3 separate regions of the Homo sapiens genome follow, and all the other regions are linked to region 2. Evidence: promoter capture Hi-C in 16 types of primary human blood cells and fetal thymus (Javierre and others, 2016). All regions are on one chromosome and are shown on one strand. The core of a region is centred on a gene start or on the middle of the fragment in contact, and the rest is flanking DNA. Distances in the headings are between cores, read along the strand shown.

What was found. Contacts are between HindIII fragments. The CHiCAGO score rates a contact against its expected background, and 5 or more counts as called.
Region 1: a contact is called between a fragment that was not itself captured here and the fragment with the promoter of GIMAP4 in region 2, in 2 of 17 cell types (non-activated CD4 T cells and activated CD4 T cells). The highest score is 8.7, in non-activated CD4 T cells.
Region 3: a fragment that was not itself captured here is called in contact with the fragment with the promoter of GIMAP4 in region 2 in 2 of 17 cell types (non-activated CD4 T cells and activated CD4 T cells); the score reaches 8.2 in non-activated CD4 T cells.

Annotation. Positions count from the first base shown.
Region 1 is chr7:150,612,869-150,616,745 of GRCh38, forward strand. It overlaps the pseudogene TRPC6P3. Among named protein-coding and RNA genes, the nearest start is that of GIMAP6, 18 kb to the right of the region's middle. The HindIII fragment of the contact is 406 bases long and covers 1,563-1,968 here.
Region 2 is chr7:150,565,592-150,569,975 of GRCh38, forward strand. It overlaps GIMAP4 (GTPase, IMAP family member 4), which reads left to right and starts at 1,799. Exons shown (of 3, transcript NM_018326.3): 1 at 1,799-1,846; 2 at 4,297-4,368. The coding sequence starts at 4,311. The HindIII fragment of the contact is 6,433 bases long and covers 1-3,169 here.
Region 3 is chr7:150,530,943-150,534,700 of GRCh38, forward strand. No RefSeq gene overlaps it. Among named protein-coding and RNA genes, the nearest start is that of GIMAP7, 18 kb to the left of the region's middle. The HindIII fragment of the contact is 1,006 bases long and covers 1,198-2,203 here.

The sequences.
Region 1 (3,877 bases), core at 516-3,015, 47 kb after region 2:
CCTGGGCTTAGATTATGGTGCATCAGGGTAGCCTTCCACCCTTTAGCACAGAGCTTGGTGTTCCAAAGGCCAAGAGAGGTTTCAGACCCCGGACCCTGGACAGGTTCCAAGACTTTTTTACATTATGTCAGACATGCAAGCCCTGCCTCAGTTTTTCCCAACACTCAGCTTTTCCCAACATACCCCCCTTTTCTTTTTCATAAAACCACCACAGCTATCATTGCTTGTTCTTGATGGCAGCTTTCTCTTCAGAGGCGGTTTCCTCTTCAGAGGCAGCTTCTGCATCTGCAGACTAAAAGGAGACAGCACAAGCACACAACAACCAGAAAGAAACCCACAATGTAGAGCCTCCAATGGCCTTCAACTATAAATCTTTTGGAACGGGATAAGAGTTTTTTAAGGATCTCAGTTACAATATAAATACTTGGTGATGTTTCCCATAGTCTATTTAGAGACAGAGGGATCAAACTCCTTCCCTGGCTTTAATTATCAAGATAGTTATATTTTCATCAAAGGTTGAATTAATGCAGGTAAACAAGCAACAATCAGGGCATGTAATAAAGTGTGTATTATATCAAGAGTAACATTTCCTATTGCTAGCACGACTTTGAATCCAAAAGGTCCTGCTGGAGAGAAAAGAAAGAGCATTTTCATCCTTACCTCCTTCCCCTCTATTCCTTTTATATTTGCCCTCTCAGATTTTGATTGGACTTTGAGCCATAGCTAATTTCCATAATTCAGAATGTTCTTGTCTGTCCCTGCAAATCTCTGCTTGTCTTTGCTAGTCTCTACCTTTGTACCTCTTTAGGGCACTGACCAGTACCTCTTTAAGGCACTAACCTTATATTGCTAGTCTTTGCTTTTGTACCTCACTGACCAGTACCTCTTTAGGGCACTGACCAATACCTCTTTAGGGTACTGACCTTATATTGCTGGTCTTCATCTATCCGTATCTGTCCCTGTCTGTCCCTATGGTACCTGTTATTTCCTGTGAGTTCCTGCAAGTCCCTGTATTTTCCTACCTATCTCTACTTATCTCTATCTCTACTTACTTATCTCTATCTCTATTTACCTCTATCTCTATCTCTAGTTATGTCTATCTCTGTCTCTATTTATCTCTATCTCTATTTATGTATATCTCTATTTATGTCTATCTCTACTTACTTATCTCTACATCTTCCTGGAAACCTTTTTTATGACCCACATCAGCATCATCCTCAATTTCCTGGAACGAATTGTTGATCATGGCAATTAACATATTTAGCAAAACAATGACCATTGTAACATTACAGACTCCATAAAGAACATAACCAATGTTTTCAATGAATTTGTGGTTATAGTTGATGATCACTGATTTCACTTCAGAAAGTCCAAATATAGCCCAGAACATTGTCTTAAAACTCTCTTCAACGTTGTGAAGGCTTCATTTTGTTTTGCACCAATGTAGTAGGAGTAGAGGTTGAACATTCCAATCATAAAGGCCACAAACACCATAATGAATATGACCATGAACCTGAAGATGTCTTTGACTGCTCCTCCAAGTGACGTCTGCAGAGGTCCAAAGCTTTCATTTGCTGGCAAAATACAAGCTATCCCAGAGAAACTCAAAACCACAGCAACTGCACAAAGACCTTCAGACACCACCCAAGGATCAGAGGGGACCCACTCCCTCCTGGCCAAATTGTAGTATTTCACATTATCTCCCAGTGTTACTTCTGTCAAGTCCTTCAAAGTATCATTTGCATCAATGATGCTTTGGGCTTTGGAAGCATGCCAGAACGCCCTGAATCTTGCAATGAACAATGCTGTGAAAATCACTAACATACCAAAATCAAGCATATTCCACAACTCAAACAAATATTCCTTGGGGCCTTGAGTCCAAATTTCTTTACATTCAGTCCCATATCATGCCTCTGTGCTCATTAAATCTGTTTTTCTCCAGCAGAAGCAGGTTAACTGTGAAACTGAAGCTTCAAGATGACTTTACTTTCCCAGGCTCCTTCTAAGTCCTCACTTTGTCTTCTTTTTCTCTAAATGGGGCCTTCTGAATAAACAAGCCTCAGATTCCACTGGGTCTTACCCCATGTCTCACCCTCTTCATAATAAGTGCCTTAAGAAATTCAAGTAAGCAGAATGTTTGCTTTCACTTTGTCCCATTGTTACCCTGTTTCTTCCAAGTGCTCAGCTTTCCTGACGAGCTTCTTTCAGTGGTCCTCAGGTGTCCTTTGACGATGCATCCTCCACTTTCACATGCTCTAGCATTCCTTCACTGGGGTATTTGTCACCCCAAGTTGGGCAGCCAGGAATGTTGGGGTGATTGGACCCAACACCAGGTGGTGGGGGTGACAAAATCTGGTGGAGTCAAAGGAATGAGTAAAGACAGTTTGAGAGAGAAAGTGGGCCCAGGGCGCCAATGTGAGTAATGGAGGCTGTGAAGGCCCTGAGCTCTGGAAGCCCAGACTATTTATTGGTGATCAAACAAAGAAACAGGTGGTGAGAATGTGGGGTTGAAAGGGAACATTGCATTAAGCACATGATTTACAGCTATGACAGTTTAGCATATGCTCTGCTACTTGAGATAATGGAGAGAAGGTTCTTTTAACTCAAGATACAATCGATCCTGGCAGAGCAAGGAGCAAGGAGCCAGCAAGTCTAGACACATTCCAGAGGCCATGAGGGGTTTTATGTCCTGCGCTTACATTATGGTGCATCAGGGTAGGCTTCCACCCTTTAGCACAGAGCTTGGTGTTCCAAAGGCCAAGAGAGGTTTTAGACCCCGGACCCTGGACAGGTTCCAAGACTCTTTTACATTGTGTCAGACATGTAAGCCCTGCCTCAGCTTCTCCCAACACTCAGCTTTTCCCAACACCATGGAGGGTGAGCGTCACCTCACCTAGGACGTCCAAGCAGCCAGGGGCCTCCCTCCCACAGCCAAGGGAAGTTGTGAGGGACTGTGCTATTTGGCCCAGATAGAACTACACATTTCCCATGGTTTTTGCAATCCACAGACCAGGAGATTCCCTCGTGTGCCTACACCACCAGGGCCCTGGGTTTCCAGCACAAAACTGGGTGACTATTTGGGCAGACACAGAGCTAGCTGCAGGAGTGTTTTTTCACACCCCAGTGGCACCTGGAACCCCAGTGAGACAGAATGGTTCACTCCCCTTTAGAGAGGGCTGAAGCCAGGGAGCCAAGTGGTCTCGCTCAGCAGGTCCCAATCCCTTGGAGAACAGCAGGCTAAAAGCCACTGGCTTGAAATTCTCACTGCCAGCCCAGCAATCTGAAGTTGACCTGGGATGATGGAACTTGCTGGGGGGAGGGGCGTCCGCCATTACTGAGGCTTGAGTAGGCAGTTTTCCTCTGACAGTGAAAATACAGTCATGTATCCCTTAACAGGGATACCTTCTGAGAAATGCATTATTAAGTGGTTTCATTGTTGTGTGAAATCATAAAGCATACATACACAAATGTACATGGTACTGCCTACTACACACCGAGGCTACATAGCCTACTGTTGGGTATAGCCTATTGCTCCTAGGCCACAAATCTGTACAGAATGTTGCTGTACTGAATACTGCAGACAATTGTAACACAGTGGTAAGTATTTGTATATCTAAACACACATAAACACAGAAAATGCACAGTATAAAATATGGTATAAAAGATAAAAAATTGTATACCTGTATAGGGCACTTACCATAAATGGAGCTTGAAGGACTGAAAGTTCCTCTGGATGAGTCAGTGAGTGACAGGTGAGTGAATGTGAGGGCCTAGGACATTAGTGTACCCTACTGTAGACTTTATAAACACTGTACATGTAGACTATATTAAATTTATAAAAGATATTTTCTTTTTTCAATTTATTTTATTTTGTTTT
Region 2 (4,384 bases), core at 549-3,048:
ATACATAACCTCCTGATTCTCCCCCTTTTTTAACTGGAGCTAGATGTTGAGGTGATCAGGCCCAACCCCTTTAATGCCTGCATGATCTCGTTCCCATTCCTGATATTAATAACTTGTATACTGTATGTTTTGCCCCTTTTCTTGATTTATGTAGATAGAGGCTTATCAATTTTATTAATTATTTCCAAAGAATTCATGTTTGATTTTATTGGTTTTCTCTATTTTTTTTTTCTGTTTCAAGATTTCTTCCCTTTAGTATTTCCTTCATCCTCCTTACTTTAGGTTCAATTTGCTGTTCCTTTTCTAAATTTTTAATGTGGTATCACAAATTATTGTTTTCATTTCTGGATCTTTAATGTAGACATTTTTGTCTACACATTGCTTTATTGTTAAAGCATTAGATGAAACGTGGTGCTCACTGCAAATGTAGTCCCTAACAGAGAACTTTCCTACTGCAGTGATCCCTGTAACCTGAATAAAGATTCCCTAAGTAATGATCCAGTGCTTTAATAGTACTAAAAATAAATACTATATTTTGCATCAATTTCTGTAATTAAATAGAATAATATATACCTTCTAGCCAGGTTTAGGCTTCAGAAACAAAATATAATCCTAGTCTTTTAAGGTATCTCAGTTCAGAATCGCGGAGATGCTTTCTCATGCTGCCTGTTCTTTTGGACTTGCCTTCGTTTGCCTGTCAAACCAAGGGACCAAGTGGTCTTTGTTATTTAAGTCATGTTGCTCTGGAATGTAAATTATCCTTACTGTTGGTGCAAGATGTATTCCATTGCCTTGTTCTGCTTTTTAGTGTAGCCATCCTGTGCTTGTATACCCAGGGCCAATCACATTCTATCCTCAAAGAAATGTATGTCTTTCTCTTACAGTTCTCTTTAGAATTATTAGCAATTTTATAATTACTAAAGTGCTATGTAATTCTAAATAAGGTCTCAGCTGTGGGGTATAATGGTAAATTGAGACCCCTTTTACAATGGAAAAATAACTGGTTATAACGGTGAGCTGGGACCCCATTACAATACTCTCAAAGTTTCCATTTTAGTGGTAAGTAGTGTCAGATGTCAGTGTTTAGAATATTTCAGTGGTTCCAGGACCATCTCAGGAGGTGAATTTTGGGCCCATCCTAGTCAGTCCAGTGAAAGTCATTTACTCTCTTTTGCTTCTAGCAGATGACTCATGGACATACCCTGGAAATAAGGACACACTGTGGACTCAGAGGACATACCTGAGGTACTGGGAGAAAGGGGTATGGGGGCTTAGCTGGGAGGCCTGTTGTGCTGAGCAGGGGTTCAGGGGCTCAAGGGTCTTTCAGAATAACTGATAACTCTCTAGTTTTGGCCCAGAAGTTTCTTCCAGAATGTCACAGCATGACCCATGTTTTTTGTCTCACTGCAGAGCCTTTGCAAGGTTCAGTATGGTAGCCACCAGGCATACCAAGCTGAATATTCCTTCTTTCCTTCTGGGGAAAATGCCTGGTGCAAGTTGTTCTGCCTGACTTTGCCTTTTAGAATTCTGACAATGGAGTAGCTATTTAACTTTAAATAAATTGAAACAAAATAAAATTTAAAATTCAGAACTGCAATCACACTCGTCACATTTCAAGCGCTCAGTAGTCACGTGTGGCTAAGGGTCACCATCTTGGACAGCACAGAACAACCCCATCCCTGCAGAAAGTTCTATTAGAGCTGCTGGATGATCAGGTGGGCAGGTCCCTTGCACAAGTAAATCTGGACAGCTCCTCCCCTCACTTCCTCTCTTCTCCTGTTTCTCAACATCCTGGCTTAGTATTGTGTGCAAAATCAGAGAGGGGTGCAAGATCCTGATTTTTCAGGTAAGGGAATAGGGGTGTGTGTGGTGGGGGTCGGGACGAATGTGCGATTTTGGTGAGGAGGGACCTGTATCTTAAATCGTCTGGTAAACATGTTTTCAGACTATATTCTCGCTGGTTCCCGTTTCCTGGCTTTGCTAATTTTAGGCTGTGATCTGTTTTCAAGGCTGAGCCCTACAAATCAATGCCTCTTCCAGAGATTGCTGCTCAGAGGATACTTGTTTTACAAATAAATGTTTCCTCTCGCTGGTTGTGGAATTTATATAGAAACTTTGATTCTTCCAGGGATAAAGTTGGGTGAGCGGACAGAATTAGCTCTGGGGGAGCTGGTGGGAAGAGGAACATTGGGATGTGTAAGGGGCACAGCTCCATATGTGGCCCCACAAAGACTGCACCCAGGTCAGGATTGGAGGCTCTGCAGTCTGAGGTCTTGTTACAGGGTTAACTGTCTGCTCGGAGCTGCCCGTTAGGGAAACTGTCTCCTCAGGGACAGTCCTGGGTTTACTGGGCATTGAGCTCCCCTTTAGCGGGTAGGAGGAGGGAGATGCCACCTGGTGTGACTCTCTACAGTTCAGGAGAAGCTGGATGCTGATGGGTGCTTGTTCCTTAGGCAGAGAGAGGAGAATTCAGCCACCTGAAGTCAGCACCTACAGAAGCACAGTCTCCTGGCTTTGCCTCTGAATTATTAACAGCAGAGCAGCATTAAAGAGCCCACACACTAGAAGGAGGATATGAAGAAACACCCAGAGAATGTCACAAAAACCCAGAATGTCACAGTATTGTTTTCTTCTTGCTGGTGTCCTATCCTCTCTCCTAACACCAGCCACCAAAGCTGATTTTTAAAAAATGCCATGATTTCTCTTGTTTACAAGAAGCTGTTTCCTATACCCTATTCTTGAAGGATAAAGAAATAGTCATTCAAAAGAAATATCTGGCTTTTCACAGTGTTTCATATTTGTTGGCTTCCTATGAGGTGACTCTGTCTTTAACAACTACCATTTTCTGCCTGTTTTGTTCAAAGTCTGCTCCAATAAGAGTTCTTCAAATATCTTTCTCCATTGCAAAATGTTTGTAGGTAGCAATGAAATAAAACATTTAAAATTAATACCATGTTTCTATAACACTACATATTAATTAATAAAGGAATGGATTGTCATTTTCACAGATCAGATGTGGGCTGGACATAATGATCAATCAAAGGCAAGAAGCAGGGAGATTATCCATTTATTTATTTAACAATGATCGATAACCATTCTTTGCCCAGTATTGTGCTTGTCCCCAGGGAATAATGAGAAATACAAGACATATGTGGTCTTCTCATCACAAAGCTTGTAGTATAAGAGGAGACAGTAAAAAAATCAAGCAATTAACTTCCTAAAGTAATACATATTCTGTAAGAAGCCTCTGGGGTGCAGTGGATCATAACAGAGGGTGTTGCTGGTAGACAGTGGTGTTGGGGAAGACTCTCTGGAGAGCCGAGGCCTGCGGGTTGAGCAGGAACAAGCTGGGCACTAGGTTGGAGGGTGAGTGCTCCAAAGAGAAGGAATGATAACTGCAAAGGCCTTGAAGGTGGAAGGAGCCTAGATTTCCAGAACATTGAGGGTAGTGTGGCTCACACATAGGAGAGAGGAGAGAGCTGATCACACAGGGCCTATGGGCCATTCTGAGGACTTCAGTTATTTTGAAACCAATAGTAAGCCACTAGGAAATTTAAACAAGAAAAAATATCAAATTTTAGTTTTAAAAGAACATCTGATTGTAGAGTAGAAAAGGGATTGAAGGGGAGATGATCAATTAGAAGCCTGTTAAGTTGTATACAATTGACAGTGGGTTGTATTAGCACAAAGATGGAGAGAAATGGGTAATTTCGAGTTTTTTGGAAGTGGAATCAATAGGATTTGGTGATGGGCTGATGAGAGAGAGAGGATAAAAGAGTTGTAGATGACCCCAAAGTTCTGCAGGAGCCACGGGGCTAGATGTTGGTGCCATCTGCTGAGCGGGGAGCCAGGAAGGCAGACAGGATGTGGAGGTCAGGGCTTAATTTCGGCCAGGTTCTGTTTGAGATGCCCATGAAATAGCCAAATGGAGTGAGATACAAAAGTTTGGAACTTTTATAAGCTGAGGGAGATATAAAAGTTTGGAACTCTGAGGAGGGTGTAGGCTACAGACCTCATATAAACACATCCAAGCCACGAATCTCTAGATAGAGGGGGGAAGGGGCCAGAACCCCTGTGAGGAAGCACTGGAAGCATTTATGTTTGTGTAAAGAAAAAGGAACAATCTGAAAATGAAACTGAAAATGGAGGGTTGAGGAGACTTTTGGGAAATGGAGCAGGAGAAATCAATGTAGCAAGCTCATGGCAAAAAGAAAGTTGTTGTTGACTACAGGCAGTCAGGGATTCTAGTTGCTTCCATTTCCCTAAAATGACATGGTTATGTTTCTTGATCTACAGGAGTTCAAGCGACAATGGCAGCCCAATACGGCAGTATGAGCTTCAACCCCAGCACACCAGGGGCCAGTTATGGTGAGAGGGCATTCAG
Region 3 (3,758 bases), core at 451-2,950, 35 kb before region 2:
TTGGTATGATTTAAGCTCCTTTGCATTTGTTGATTGTTTTATGTCCAATTACGTGGTTCATTTTAGAGTATGCGCCATGTGGTGATGAGAAGAGTGTATATATATTCTGTCGTCTTTGGGTGGAGACTTCTGTAAATGTCTATTAGATCCATTTGGTCCAATGTTGAGTTGAGGTCCTGAATATCTTTGTTAATTTTCTGCCTTGATGATCTGTCTAATACTGTTAGTGGAGTGTTGAATTCTCCTACTATTATTGTGTGAGAGTCTATATCTCTTTGTAGGTCTCTAAGAATTTTCTTTATGAATCTGGGTCCTCCTGTGCTGGGTGCATATATATTTCAGATAGTTAGGTATTCTTATTGAATTGAACCCTTTACCTTTATGTAATTCCCTTCTTTGTGTTTTTTGATCTTTGTTGGTTTGAAATCTGTTTTGTCTTAAAGCAAAAAAAAAAAAAAATACATATTTGGTTAGTTTGTACCTTGCTAAACTAATTGATGCTAGAGAGGCAAAATAAAAAAAACAAACCTGGACTCAAATAAAAATTTAGTTATTATAATTTAAATGAGATTATTTACATATGCAATTCTACAAAATATTTTTTCTTAGGTAGACCAGGCTTAACATTACTTAATAAAAACTCAGGTATAAAAGATTCCATATTTTTTCCTTATTTTTCATCTTCTTTTCTTCTAAATTGAGGTCAATAACATTTTCTTCTCACTAAAAAAAAAGAAATCTGTTTTGCCTGAAAATAGGATTGCAGCTCCTGCTTTTTTCTCTTTTCAATTTGCTTGGTAGATTTCCCTCTATCCCTTTATTTTGAGCCTATGAGTGTCATTACATGTGAGATGGGTCTCTTGAATCAGCATATCATTGGGTCTTGCTTCTTTATCCAGCTTGTCACTCTATGCCTTTTAAGTGGGGGCATTTAGTCCATTTACATTAAGGTTAGTATTGATATATGTGTATTTAATCCTGTCATTGTGCTGTTAGCTGGTTATTATGTTCGCTTGTTTTTATGGTTGCTTTATAGTGGTCTGTGTGTTTAAGTGTGTTTTTGTATTACCTGGTAGCAGTCTTTCTTTTCTATATTTAGTGCTCATCTCAAGATCTCTTGTAAGGCAGGAATGGTGGTAATGAGATCCCTCAACATTTGCTTATCTGAAAAGGATCTTATTTCTCCTTCACTTAGGAAGCTTAGTTTGGCTGGATATGCAATTCTTGGTTGAAGATTTTGTCTTTAAGGGTGTTGAATATTGGCACCAAATCTCTTCTGGCTTGGAGGGTTTCAGCTGAGAGACCCACTGTTAGCCTGAAGGGTTTCCCTTTGTAGGTGGCTTCCCTTTCTCTCTAGCTGCCTTTAACATTCTTTCATTTCAACCTTGGAAAATCTGACAGTTATGTGTATTGGGGATGATCCTCTTATGTAGATTCTTGCAGGAGTTCTCTGTATTTCCTGAATTTGACTGTTGGACTCTCTAGCAAGGTTGGGGAAGTTTTCATAAACAGTATCCTGAAATATATTTTCCAAGTTGTTTGCTTTCTCCCCTTCCCTTTCAAGCAATGCCAATCGGATTTGCCCTCTTTACATAATCTCATAATTCTCAGACACTTTATTCATTCATTTTTAGCCTTTTTTCTTTATTTTTTGTCTTATTTCAGAGAACCAGTATTCAAGTTCTGAGATTCTTTCCTCAGCTTGATTTCTTCTGCTTTTAATATTTATGATATTATTGTATTATGTTATTCAGCTCTGTCAGATGCATTAGGTTCTTTTTTATACTGGTTATTTTGTCCTTCAGCTCCTGTATTGCTTTATTGTGATTCTTATTTTCCTTGGATTGGGTTTTGCCATCCTTCTGAATCTCAAAGATTTTTGTTTCTATCCATATTTTGTCTTCTATTTCTGTCATTCCAGCCATTTCAGCCTGGTTAAGAACCCTTGTTGGAGAACTGGTGTGCCATTTGGAGGACATATGACAATCTGGCCACTTGAGTTACTGGAGTTCTTGCGTTGGTTCTTTCTCATCTCTGCATGTCGGTGTTCCTTTAACTGCAGTGTAGATTGAATACAATCAATAAACTTCTTTTTATGGATGTTTTCACAGGGCCAAGTCTTTGTGCAGGGTCTCTATTTGAAGCTGACTTCTTGTCTCTGGTTTCAGAGGAGGGTATGTTAGTGAGGTATTTTTGGTGTTGAAGCTTTGGGGTGTGATCCAGCAGGTGGCACTTATGTTTGTTGGTCAGTTCGTAGACTCTTGCTTGGTTGTGTGGCTCCCCTATGTTTCCTCATAGTTGCAGCCATGTTCCCTCTCAATGCTCTGAAAGTGTTGGTTTCTCTCTCTCTTGACTGCTGGCTGTAGATCATGGTTTGGTGCTCCTGGGCTGCCCACTGCAGCTCTGGGGTGATCTCAGTGTTTACATTCCTTCCTCAAATTGGAGTCAGTAAAGGAAGAACTTTAGTAGTGGTTGTGGACAATGGTCTTTTGCTTGTCTCCCAGGGGCCCCACCCCAGAAAGATGCAGGTCAGCAGTTGCTCAGTGCAATTAGCCCAAGATGGAGGGTCTGTGCTGGAGGGCCCAAGCCAGGGATTCCCTGTCTGGTGATGAGCAATGGGGGTGTGGGGGACCCATGGAAATTGGACTGGCTTCCTCTTCTTGGATGAAATGTAGCTTGTTGGAGGTGTGTATAAGGCACTTAGGGTCTTTGCTCCTATGTTAGTCCACGGGTGGCAAAGGCAGTTCCACTGCAGAGGCAGTGGCAGAGAGATTTTCAGTTGCCCTGGAAGGCTCTGTCCAGGGAGTTGCTGAGTTGCTATTGGCTTGATAGCTCTGGTGGTGGGTGTCTGGAGGCCAAGCCTGGAGGACCTGTCTGGTAAGGAGATATGGGAATGGCCACCCACATAACAGTCTGGCCAATTTTCCATAGGGCTTCTGCGGTATGCTAGGGGCCCACTCCAGTCCCTAGTTACCTCGGATTTTACCTGGAGGTAACACCAGAGAAGCCTGTCAAATAGCAAAGATGGCAAACTGCCCTTCCCTCTGGGAGCTTCATCCTGTTGCTAGCCTGTTGCTAGCTTGTTCAAGCCTGTTGCTAGCCTGAACACACCTGTAGGAGGTGGCTGGAGACCCCGATAGAAAGGTCCCACCCAGTAAGGAGAAATGTGATTGGGGACCCACTTTAAAAAGCAGTCTGGCCATGATTTCATAGAGCAGCTAAGCTGTGCTGGGGATCCACTTCAGCTCCTGGTTGCCTTGGACACTTCAAAGCCTGAACGCTGGAATAGCTAAGTTGCCCAGACAGCAAGGATGGTGGTCCACCCTTCATGCTGAGAGCTTCATCCCAGAGAATTAAAATCTCTGTTGGCTGGAGAACACTAATGGGGGTGGCTAGAGGCCCTGGTTGGGAGATCCTACTCAGGGAAGAGGAATGGGATTGGGCACCCACTTAAAGAAGCAGTTTAGCCACATTTTGTTAGAGCAGCTGTGCTGTTCTGGGTGGGTCCCTTCTGCCTGTGGTCAGCTAAGACTCTCCAAATTCTGAAGACTTGGTTGGGGGCTAAGTAGCTCAAACAGCAAAGATGAAAGATGGCAGCCTGCCCCTTCTCCTGGGAGCTCCATCACAGGGAAGTGCAATGCTGCTACCAGTGGCTGGCTGGAACTCCAAGCTAATGGGTCTTATCCTGTGAGGTGCCATGGAAGTGGGGCCTGCAGGCTGTCACTGCTCAGTCCCTTGGATTCAGCCTCTTACCTAGG